2 separate regions of the Homo sapiens genome follow, and region 1 is linked to region 2. The links are contacts of gene promoters, found by promoter capture Hi-C in human tissues and cell types (Jung and others, 2019). All regions are on one chromosome and are shown on one strand. The core of a region is centred on a gene start or on the middle of the fragment in contact, and the rest is flanking DNA. Distances in the headings are between cores, read along the strand shown.

What was found. The method cuts DNA at HindIII sites, captures the fragments that hold promoters and counts their contacts. A contact is called where the count stands out against the background at its distance.
Region 1: the fragment with the promoter of PPP1R9B here is called in contact with the fragment with the promoter of PDK2 in region 2 in 3 of the 25 tissues and cell types used here (IMR-90 fibroblasts, dorsolateral prefrontal cortex and hippocampus).

The regions. Positions count from the first base shown.
Region 1 is chr17:50,147,405-50,152,330 of GRCh38, reverse strand. PPP1R9B (protein phosphatase 1 regulatory subunit 9B) reads left to right here and starts at 1,654. Exons shown (of 10, transcript NM_032595.5): 1 at 1,654-3,188. The coding sequence starts at 1,818. LOC124904025 (a long non-coding RNA gene) reads right to left here and starts at 3,596. Exons shown (of 3, transcript XR_007065841.1): 1 at 3,504-3,596. RefSeq lists enhancers at 989-1,283, 4,003-4,072, 4,705-4,926 and silencers at 1,294-1,383, 1,454-1,543, 2,193-2,302, 3,153-3,272. The HindIII fragment of the contact is 6,486 bases long and covers 1-4,926 here.
Region 2 is chr17:50,093,996-50,098,439 of GRCh38, reverse strand. It overlaps PDK2 (pyruvate dehydrogenase kinase 2), which reads right to left and starts at 3,089. Exons shown (of 11, transcript NM_002611.5): 1 at 2,887-3,089; 2 at 876-1,017. The coding sequence starts at 3,004. It overlaps LOC124904024 (a long non-coding RNA gene), which reads right to left. Exons shown (of 2, transcript XR_007065837.1): 2 at 3,787-4,098. It overlaps PDK2-AS1 (PDK2 antisense RNA 1), which reads left to right. Exons shown (of 2, transcript XR_007065842.1): 2 at 1-542. RefSeq lists enhancers at 1,658-2,173, 2,174-2,689, 3,721-3,930 and a silencer at 3,221-3,340. The HindIII fragment of the contact is 10,814 bases long and covers 1-4,444 here.

The DNA.
Region 1 (4,926 bases), core at 405-2,904, 55 kb before region 2:
AACCCACACACACCCCTGCAGTGGAGTGGTAGGAGGGCTCCCTTTGCCAGCCCTTCCAGGCCAGGGGGGAGAGAGTGGGAGATTAGGAAAAGGAGGAAGAGGATGGAGGGGAAGAGGGCGGGGGAGGAGGCAGAGGCCGCAGAAAGGCCTGAGATGCAGGAAGCAGCTGGGAGTGGGGGGAGGCTTTGTGCCTGAGTTGTTCTCTGGGTCCTAGGGCCCATTGTGTTCACCAGTTTCTGGGATGTGTGGAATGAACCAGCTCACCTGGACCTGTCCAGAGGGCGGACTCTCACACCCAGGGCCCAGGCAGCGCCAGCACCCTAGCTGTGTATGCGGGGGGTGCAGAGGGCATCAAACAGCTTTCTGGGTTGCCAGGACAGGGGATGTGTAAGTCACTGTCACCCTCCCCACCCCCCCACCCCAACCGGAACACAGTGGCCAGGATCCTTTAAATCAGAGACCCAAGTTAGAGCTCTCACTGGCGAAACTTTGGCCCCAGGCCTCTCGAATTCCTGCTCCCAAACCCTTCCTTCCGGTTTGAGAGGCAGGAGTGCCAGGGTAGGGGCCTGAAGACGGGTGCACAGCAGACAGGCGACAGGACATCCTTTCCAGACTTCGGCAGTTTTGGTGATCCCCTGCTACTTGGATGACGGGGTTCACCTCCTTTCTTCACCACCCCTCCCCCACCATCGAAAGGTCACCAGCGCTGGACCAAGGTTTCACACCTCCAAGGGGGCCAAAGATTGCCTGTAGTGAAGTGTTAAAATGCAGATTCCTGGGTTCAGCCTCGGAGATTCTCCTTCACAAGGTTCGAGAGAGATCCCAGAAATCTGCATTTTTACCAAGTGCCCAGCGATTCTGATGCTAAAGGCTTGAAGCACACCGAAGAGCTAGCTCCGAGGACACTGAAGAATGAACCTCTGCCCCTCCCTACAAACCCCCTCCCCTCACACTGAGACCATCGTGGATGTACTGCCTCCCCCCAATATTTCATGGAGGTGCGGTTCTGTGGGTTGTGACCGCAGTCAGAAGTTGTGATGGAAGCAGGTTGAAGAGTGCTGGCCAACGTCCGGGGGCAGCGGAAGGCTCTCCGCGAGGGCTGGGGAGGGGAGGGGATCCGTTCGGGTGGAGGGGAAGGGGAGGGCTCACAGGCTCCGGCCCCGGAAATCCGATCCCTTTAGGACCCAGAGGTGCCAGTCCCCCAGCGGCGGCTGCGAGAAGGGCAGCCGCTCGGTCTCCGGCAGCCGCCGCTCGGGCAAAGCCAGAGAAAGACCGAGGCTCGGGGCACGGGGGGGAGGGAGGGAGGGAGGGAGGCGCGGCGGCGGAGCGGCCCGGGCCGGCGGAGCAGCCATGGGCGTTGGGGTGCCGGGCCCCCCGAGAGCCGAGGCCTCCGGCCGGACTGGGGGACGCCCGGGCTGCCAGCCCCGCTGACACCGTCTCGGACGATGTGAGCCGGCGACACCGCGGCTGCTTCGCGGGCAGGGCGCGCGCTCCCACCGGCCCCAGACGCCGCTTTGCTAATTTGGGTGGGGGCGACCGTACCAGGCCGCTCGGGCTTTTGAAGCGGGGCTGGCTGTCTTCGGCAGCTTGATTGGGGGAGGCGACCCACACACAGGGCGCTTGGAGATTTTTTTTTTTTCATTTTTTTTTTTAAAGCGGGATTAACTGTTTTTGGCAGCTTGGTTTTGGGGGGACCCTAAAAAAGGCCTTCGGGGTTTCTTTTATCGGGGGGAGGGGGCGGTGGTCCCGACTTGGCCAGCCGCCTGTTGAAGCGGGGGAGCGGGGAGCAGGGGCATGCGAACCCGGCTCCCCCCACCATGATGAAGACGGAGCCACGGGGGCCCGGGGGTCCCCTCCGGAGCGCCTCCCCGCACCGCAGCGCCTACGAGGCGGGCATCCAGGCGCTGAAGCCGCCCGACGCGCCCGGGCCCGACGAGGCACCCAAGGGGGCCCACCACAAGAAATATGGCTCCAACGTCCACCGCATCAAAAGTATGTTCCTGCAGATGGGCACGACGGCGGGGCCCTCGGGCGAGGCGGGCGGCGGCGCGGGCCTGGCCGAGGCCCCACGGGCGTCCGAGCGCGGCGTGCGCCTGTCGCTGCCGCGGGCCAGCAGCCTGAACGAGAACGTGGACCACAGCGCCCTGCTGAAGCTGGGCACCAGCGTGTCGGAGCGCGTGAGCCGCTTCGACTCCAAGCCCGCGCCCTCCGCGCAGCCTGCGCCGCCGCCGCACCCGCCGTCCCGGCTGCAGGAGACGCGGAAGCTGTTCGAACGGAGCGCCCCAGCGGCCGCAGGCGGCGACAAGGAGGCCGCGGCGCGGCGGCTGCTGAGGCAGGAGCGCGCCGGCCTGCAGGACCGGAAGCTGGACGTCGTGGTGCGCTTCAACGGCAGCACCGAGGCGCTGGACAAGCTGGACGCTGACGCCGTGTCCCCCACGGTCAGCCAGCTCAGCGCCGTCTTCGAGAAGGCCGACTCGAGGACCGGCCTCCACCGCGGGCCCGGGCTCCCCAGGGCCGCAGGGGTTCCCCAGGTCAACTCGAAGCTGGTCAGCAAGCGGTCCCGGGTGTTCCAGCCCCCGCCGCCGCCGCCGCCCGCCCCGTCGGGGGATGCCCCGGCCGAGAAAGAGCGATGCCCCGCAGGGCAGCAGCCCCCGCAGCACCGAGTGGCCCCTGCCCGGCCGCCCCCCAAGCCCCGGGAGGTGCGCAAGATTAAGCCGGTGGAGGTGGAGGAGAGCGGGGAGTCGGAGGCCGAGTCGGCGCCCGGGGAGGTGATCCAGGCCGAGGTTACGGTCCACGCGGCCCTGGAGAATGGCAGCACCGTGGCAACTGCAGCCAGCCCCGCGCCCGAGGAGCCAAAGGCCCAAGCGGCCCCGGAGAAGGAGGCGGCGGCGGTAGCGCCGCCAGAGAGGGGGGTGGGCAATGGCCGGGCCCCGGACGTGGCCCCTGAGGAGGTAGATGAATCCAAGAAGGAGGACTTCTCGGAGGCGGACTTGGTGGACGTGAGCGCCTACAGTGGGCTCGGGGAGGACTCTGCGGGCAGTGCCCTGGAGGAGGACGACGAAGACGACGAGGAGGATGGGGAGCCCCCCTACGAGCCCGAGTCGGGGTGCGTGGAGATCCCGGGGCTGTCGGAGGAGGAGGACCCAGCCCCGAGCCGGAAGATCCATTTCAGCACGGCGCCCATCCAAGTAAGTGAGCCCCCCCGCCCTGCCCCCGCGCCGCCCCTGCCACGTGCACGCGGCCGCCCCCGCTCGCCAGCCAGCCAGCCGGGTTTGGCAGGCTGAGTCAGCCCCTGCCACCCAGCCCCCTTCCCAGAAGTTCCCACCCTCAGGGGGGCGTGGGGGAGTTCCAGCTGTTTGTCAGAGAGGGATTTTCAGGTGTGCGAGGGGGGTGGCCTGCCCCGACCTGCCCTCAGGTTCCTCCGCCTGCTGCCCCGCCCCGCCGCTCCGCGGAACCCGCCCTGCCCCACGCGGGTCCTGGGACACCTGCTTTCCCTTCCTCACCCGGACATTCCTTCCTCCAGAGGCTGCCAGAGGCTGGGGTTGGGTAGTGTGAAGGGGTGTGTGTGTCTTCAGGAGAGACATTTGCCCTTCACTGGGTAGAGAGGGGGCCGGGGTGCTTTCCCCCTGTATGGGAGCTGGATGAGGTGAGAAAGGGGAAAGCCAGGAACTTCTCAAAACGAAGCTGCAGGGGACCGCAGGCAGCCCTTCCTCTATTCTGTTTGTACCCCCACCCCAACTTTGCAGAAGTGAAAGAGGGAAGCAGATCGTGAGGGTGAGCTGGTCTGTGGCCATGTGACTGGCTGGCGCCGTGTTCCCTGGGGGTCCCTGCAGGCCAGCTGCCCGGTCCTCCTTGCACAGGGAGGGGCACTTTGTGTGGTCCTTGATGGGGAGAGGCCTTCTGCAGGCATGGAGGAGGAGGAGGTGGGGCTGGGATCCCCCTGGGTGCCTGGCAGTAGTGGGCATGCCTTTACTCTTGGCTGCTCAATAGGACAGACTCCCATGGCCTTGGCAGGCCCCAAGTGTTCTTGCCACATTCTCTGGGAGCCCTGAAAGAGGGATGGGAGCTGCCCCTTTTGGGGGTCTCATCCCCACGGCCACTATTGGTGGTTGGTTTGTGGGTTGTGCCAGAGCTTTGAGATCCTCAGAACAGCCCTGATGGGGAGGGAACATCCCCTGGGGGGAATCAAAAACCCCAGGCCACCCCTCCCCCCACTTCCCACCACCCTCCACTCTTGGCTAGCACATTCAGCCTGCAGGGTTCTTCCTCACCGCCCCAGGCTCAGCTGCACCCGGCCCCAGGTCCGCCCCATGGAAGTGTCCAGGTCCCTGGACTCTCCTTGGCCTGGACCCTGCCCTGCCTTTACCCTTCCCTAGCCAAAGCACCATCTGTTTGCTTGTCGTTTCCATAACTACTCCTGGACTCTGAAGCTTCCCAACTTTCCTCTCACTCGCCCAGAATGTCAGCCTCTGCCCCTCTCCCACCTCCCACCCCAGCAAGAGGCCTGAAAGGTTAAAAGTGAGTGGCTCTCAGGCCAGCCTCTCCCCTGGGCTGGGACCTGCGGGGTCCTCTCCCAACCCCTTTCCCCTCCTGAAGGCAGTGGGGTTCTGAAGGGAATGGGGGACTGTAGTGTTTCTTGGGACTCTGAAGCAGAGTTTGGATCCCCCCACCCCACCCCCACTAATTTTGCGAGAAGTCCGATTCCCTCAGAGTTGGAGTTTGGTCTGGGCCTCTGACTGTCTATATTTGACGCCTTACCCTGATTTTTCAGTAAAAAATAGCACATGATTTGGAGCAGTGCTTCCCGGCTCCCTGGTGACTTTGGAGCTGGCCCGCCCTGTGTGAGAGCCAGCGTGTGTGGCGGGCCCAGTGTGGCTGGCTTTCAGCCTCACTGGGGATTTCCTCCTCCCCACCCTGGCACAGGGG
Region 2 (4,444 bases), core at 1,840-4,339:
CACCCTGCCTGGGTGAATATTATTTTTCCCTCAAGATCACAGGCCTCTGAGGGCAGCTGCTGTGACTTCGCATGGCTTTGAGCTCAGAATACATGTGGGCACGTGCTCCTCAGTCTACAGGGAAATCACAACTATATCATACTGCAAGTCCAAAAGAACCAGCCCAAGATTTCTGCAAGGGTGCCACCAAAGTCAATGAGGATTAGCTATTTACATGCCCAGTGACAAGGGACACCCTTGTTTATTCTTCACGTGACTGGCCTTTGGCTAATTTCATCCAGTTACTTAACTTGAGTTCTTGAGTGAACTCTGCTGAGCCTTTCCCTCTGTTCCTGCTGCAGTGCGCAATAAACGTTTGGTCTTTGCCCCTCCAAAGCTCTTCGGGAAGGTACTGTGCCATCCTTGTGTGTATCTGAGTATTTTCCAACATCCAAAACAGTCTGTCTTGCAGCTTGGGTTATATAATGTATTTGAAAACTTACTTCTTGTTTCTGCTTCCCAAAAAGTTACCCCCAAATAAATACTGCCTAACAGTTACTGGAGTTCCAGGTCTGGGCTGCTGGCTAATGCTGACATCAGCCTGAATTGGGGTTTTGGCTGTGAAAACCATGCTTTCCTAGGTGGATCCTGTGTTTCCAGAGAAAGGTGGGTGGTAAGAAGAGGGCTAGACACAGAGACTAGGAGCTTGACCTCAGTCCTGCTCTGGCCTCAGATTCCCACGTGACCCTAGGCAACTCCAAGCGCTTGGGGCTTTGGTGTCTCCTGTCTGTCCCCACCCCACCCTCAAAGCTGCTAAAAGCTTGGAGATGCCATCCCTGAGCCCAGGGACACTGGCGATGGAGTGGGAGGTGCAGGGACTGAGCCAGGGGTCTCACCAGCTCTGCACCAGCTGCACGGAGGGTGTGCTCAGCACTCGGTCGGGAAGCAGGTTGATCTCTTTCATGATGTTGGCCAGGCGCACAGGCAGCTCCTGCCTGAGGAAGGTGAAGGAGGTTTTCTCACAGGCATTGCTGGATCCTGGCAGGAGAAAGAGGGGTGAGCCACAGAGCCACAGACTATGAAAGCCAAAGGATGTCTCGGCCAGGTCAGCTAAACCCTTCATTAACAGGGGGCTCAGAGAGCAAGTGACCTGCCCGGGGCACACAGCAAGGCTCCCCATCCCCTGCAGGGCTCAAACACCTACACCCCATGCCTAACACTTCAGGAGGTGTCATCCTCTCCTCATCCCCAGCTGAACCCTGCTTGCCTTTAACCACAGTGGACAGGGCCACTCCTGGGCCCATTTGGAGCTGCCTCTGGCCTCAGTCACCTCACTTCTCTTTCCTTCCCTCCCAGCACACTCACTTTGAGGGGCTGATTCCAGGGGACAAAGGAGCCTGGGAAACCCATCCCTACCTAGGACTGGGCTCTGGCTGAGGGGGGCTATGGCTAGACCACCACTGCAGGCTCCCAGTGTTGTCTCTGGCCAGCCCACCTCACCCAGCCTGGCCTGAATGCCCATGTGGGGCTGCTGTGTCTTAATGCCCATCCATGGGGCAAACGGGCCTGAGAACAGGAGTCCAAATGCCTCGGTCCTTGTCTGGTGTCAAGATGGAAAGGGTGGGGGACCGAATATGGCCTTGGCCCAGGGTCAGGGGCCCTGGGTTCCAGTCCATCAGGCTCTGCTTCCAACTCTGTCACCCAGGCCATGCCATCATCCTTTTGAAGGTCTCAGTTTCCCCCATAGTACTACAAGTTGACCAAACTCTACTGTGAGCCCCTCACAGCTGTGATGTTTCTGTAATTAGGGTGCAGTTTGTGGGGACAGCTGCTGGGGGCTAGGGGTGGGCCCAGGAGGCTTTCCTACATGGGGGAGGCTCAAGACTCAGGCAGGGCAGGGGTGCAGGCAGACAAGTCCTGAGGAACAGGTGCCTTATGTCTCGGCTGCCACCTCTCTGTTCCCGTCCCATCATTGACGCAGCTGCAACCCAAGCTAGGCACTATCAACTCAACTCTTGAGAGACTGCCCCCCACCCCCAGTCCCCAGCTGGCACCATGGAAATACCACATAGACAGACAGGGCCCACACAATGCCCATTTCAGCTGCCACGTTGGCACAGCCTCCCTCCTGCCCCAGGGCCACCCCCAGGTTGCTGGTAGTGGGCGATCCTGACCTAGCAGCCCTGGGGCAGCCAAGGGAGGTATAGGCGGCTTGACTCCACATCACGGTGCCTGGGGCCCCTGCCCAGCTGGGGAGAGGCTGCCAGGCCGGAACAGATTTGATCTTCAAGTGTCCTTGCCCACTGGGGCAGCTAGGGTCCAGCTCCTTCTGTGGGTGGATGTCTACCAGTCAGGGCACTGTCTCCCAATGGCATCTTCTGAAAGAGCCCCCTTCCCCAACTGCCCCTGGCTTAATCTCACCCTCTGCCCAGGGGTGTCTGACCCTTCATGCCCAGTCCAGGTCTCTCTACAGATGGCTGCACCTCTAAACCCTGCCTCCTCACTCCCACCAGCAGACCCCCGGTTTCCTCTGGTGGGAGGAGGGGCCCCTACTCCTCCAGTCATGAGGACAACTCCCATTAACCCTTTCGCGTCTGGATACCACCCTACTCCCTTCCTGCAGTAACATCACAGCTTCACTGCCCCTTACTCTTCAAGACCCTTCATGAGGCCCACGAAGAAACCTCGGGACCGTCCTTGTAAATGCCCCCCATTCCCATCAGCAGCCCCGTCGAGAGGCCCCGGCCGGTTCCTGCTTCCCCATTAACTCTTTCCTGCCTGTACCTTTCCAAACAACCCTTCTCTGTCACTCGGGGCCTTTCTTCTCCTCCGTCCCCCTAGCCCCCGGCTGCCCCTCCCAGCGCCCCGCCGGCCTCCGCTGCCAGCCGCCTCCCGCCCACTCCGTACCGAAGTCCAGAAACTGCTTCATGGACAGCGGGGACGGGGAGAACTTGCTGAAGTGCTCTATGTACTTGGGCGCCCCTGCCAGGGACGCATTCTTCAGCAGCGCCCACACCCAGCGCATGGCTGCGGCGGCCGCGACTTTGGTTGTGGTCCCCGCGCGGGCAGCGCTCGCGCACCTTTCGGCCCAGCGACGCGGTTCGGCCGCCTCCTCCCTACCCTTGCCCTGGCGGGCATTCCAACGCCCAGCCAATCGGCTCGTCATGGCGCCTCGACGTCGCCAATGGCCACTCACAAACAACTCCGGGCGAACCAATAGCCTTCCGCCCCGGCACGTGGCTTCCCCCGGGCCCGCCCCCTTAACCCACGCTTTGCCGGGGCGGCCTGTTGTTTTGGGGAGGCCGCGCCGAGTTCCCACCTCCCCTGTGTTCACTCCTCCCTTTCCTCCGCGGGGCGAAGCCCGGGTTAACCCCTTCCTTCCCAGAGCCCCGCCAGCCCTTTCGCTTCCTCTTCCACGCCTGCCTTTCCCTTGCTACCCCCTCGCATCTCCTTCACCTGCAGGCTCCTTTTAACCCTTCCTTTCCAGAGTTGTCTAGGTAGCTTTCAACCAATCCCTTTTCTCCAACTCAAAGGTACCTGTTTCACCTGTCATGATCGTTACCTATCCTCCCTTAACGGGTCTTGGGGATTCCCAGTCCGGATGACAGTGACCCAGACTGCGAATATTTGCAAAATTCGGAACCAGGGTGCAAGCCTATACGAATCCGTCCTGTATATATGCAGCCCACCCGCTTCCACAAAGATCCAAGCGGCTCAGGAAAAGGCGGAGTTTGCTTTTCCAACTGAAAAACATCCAGAGTAAAAACCATCACTACTAGTGGCGGTGGAGGCAGCAGCTATCGTCCATGCCAGTTAACACTTTCATTTTATTATACAGCTCATCTGACCGAACATAAAGCCTTGGACATCTAGCGCGACCACCTGAGAAAGCCACCTCCTTCGCACCGGGCTTCCTTAGAGCAAGATCCCAGGAGGTGAAGTGTCTCTGGGAGGCCCGGAGCCCGTCCTTCATCAGCGGCCCAGCTTCTCTTGGAGAAAATGTGACGCGCCCTCTTGTGGCCGAATGTGGTATCTCCCATCGTGGGTTTAGGGCCCGACCCGCCACTTTGATGCTTTCTTTGCTCGGTGACATTAGCCTAATACGTGTTAGGCTTTATGCTGGGAACAGGGAACACAGACAGGATCAAGAAATGGCCTTTTTCCTCGATGATTTCATTTCTAAGTTTCAGAGATAGCTACATAAGTAAATAATTAGCTATAACTGAATGTGATTGTAATACAGACCTCACAGAGCAAAGCTTCACATATGGAAGGGCCTCTTAGCTGGATGAATAATAAGCTATATGCCAGGCACTGTTTACAGGCATTATCTCATTTAATTCTCTATTTTATTATTCTTAGCCTCATTTCATAGATAAGAAAACCGAGACTCAGGGATCATTCTCAACTGCAAATCTGACCTTATTACTTCCTTGCTCACAGCCTTTCAATGGGCTATTTTTTT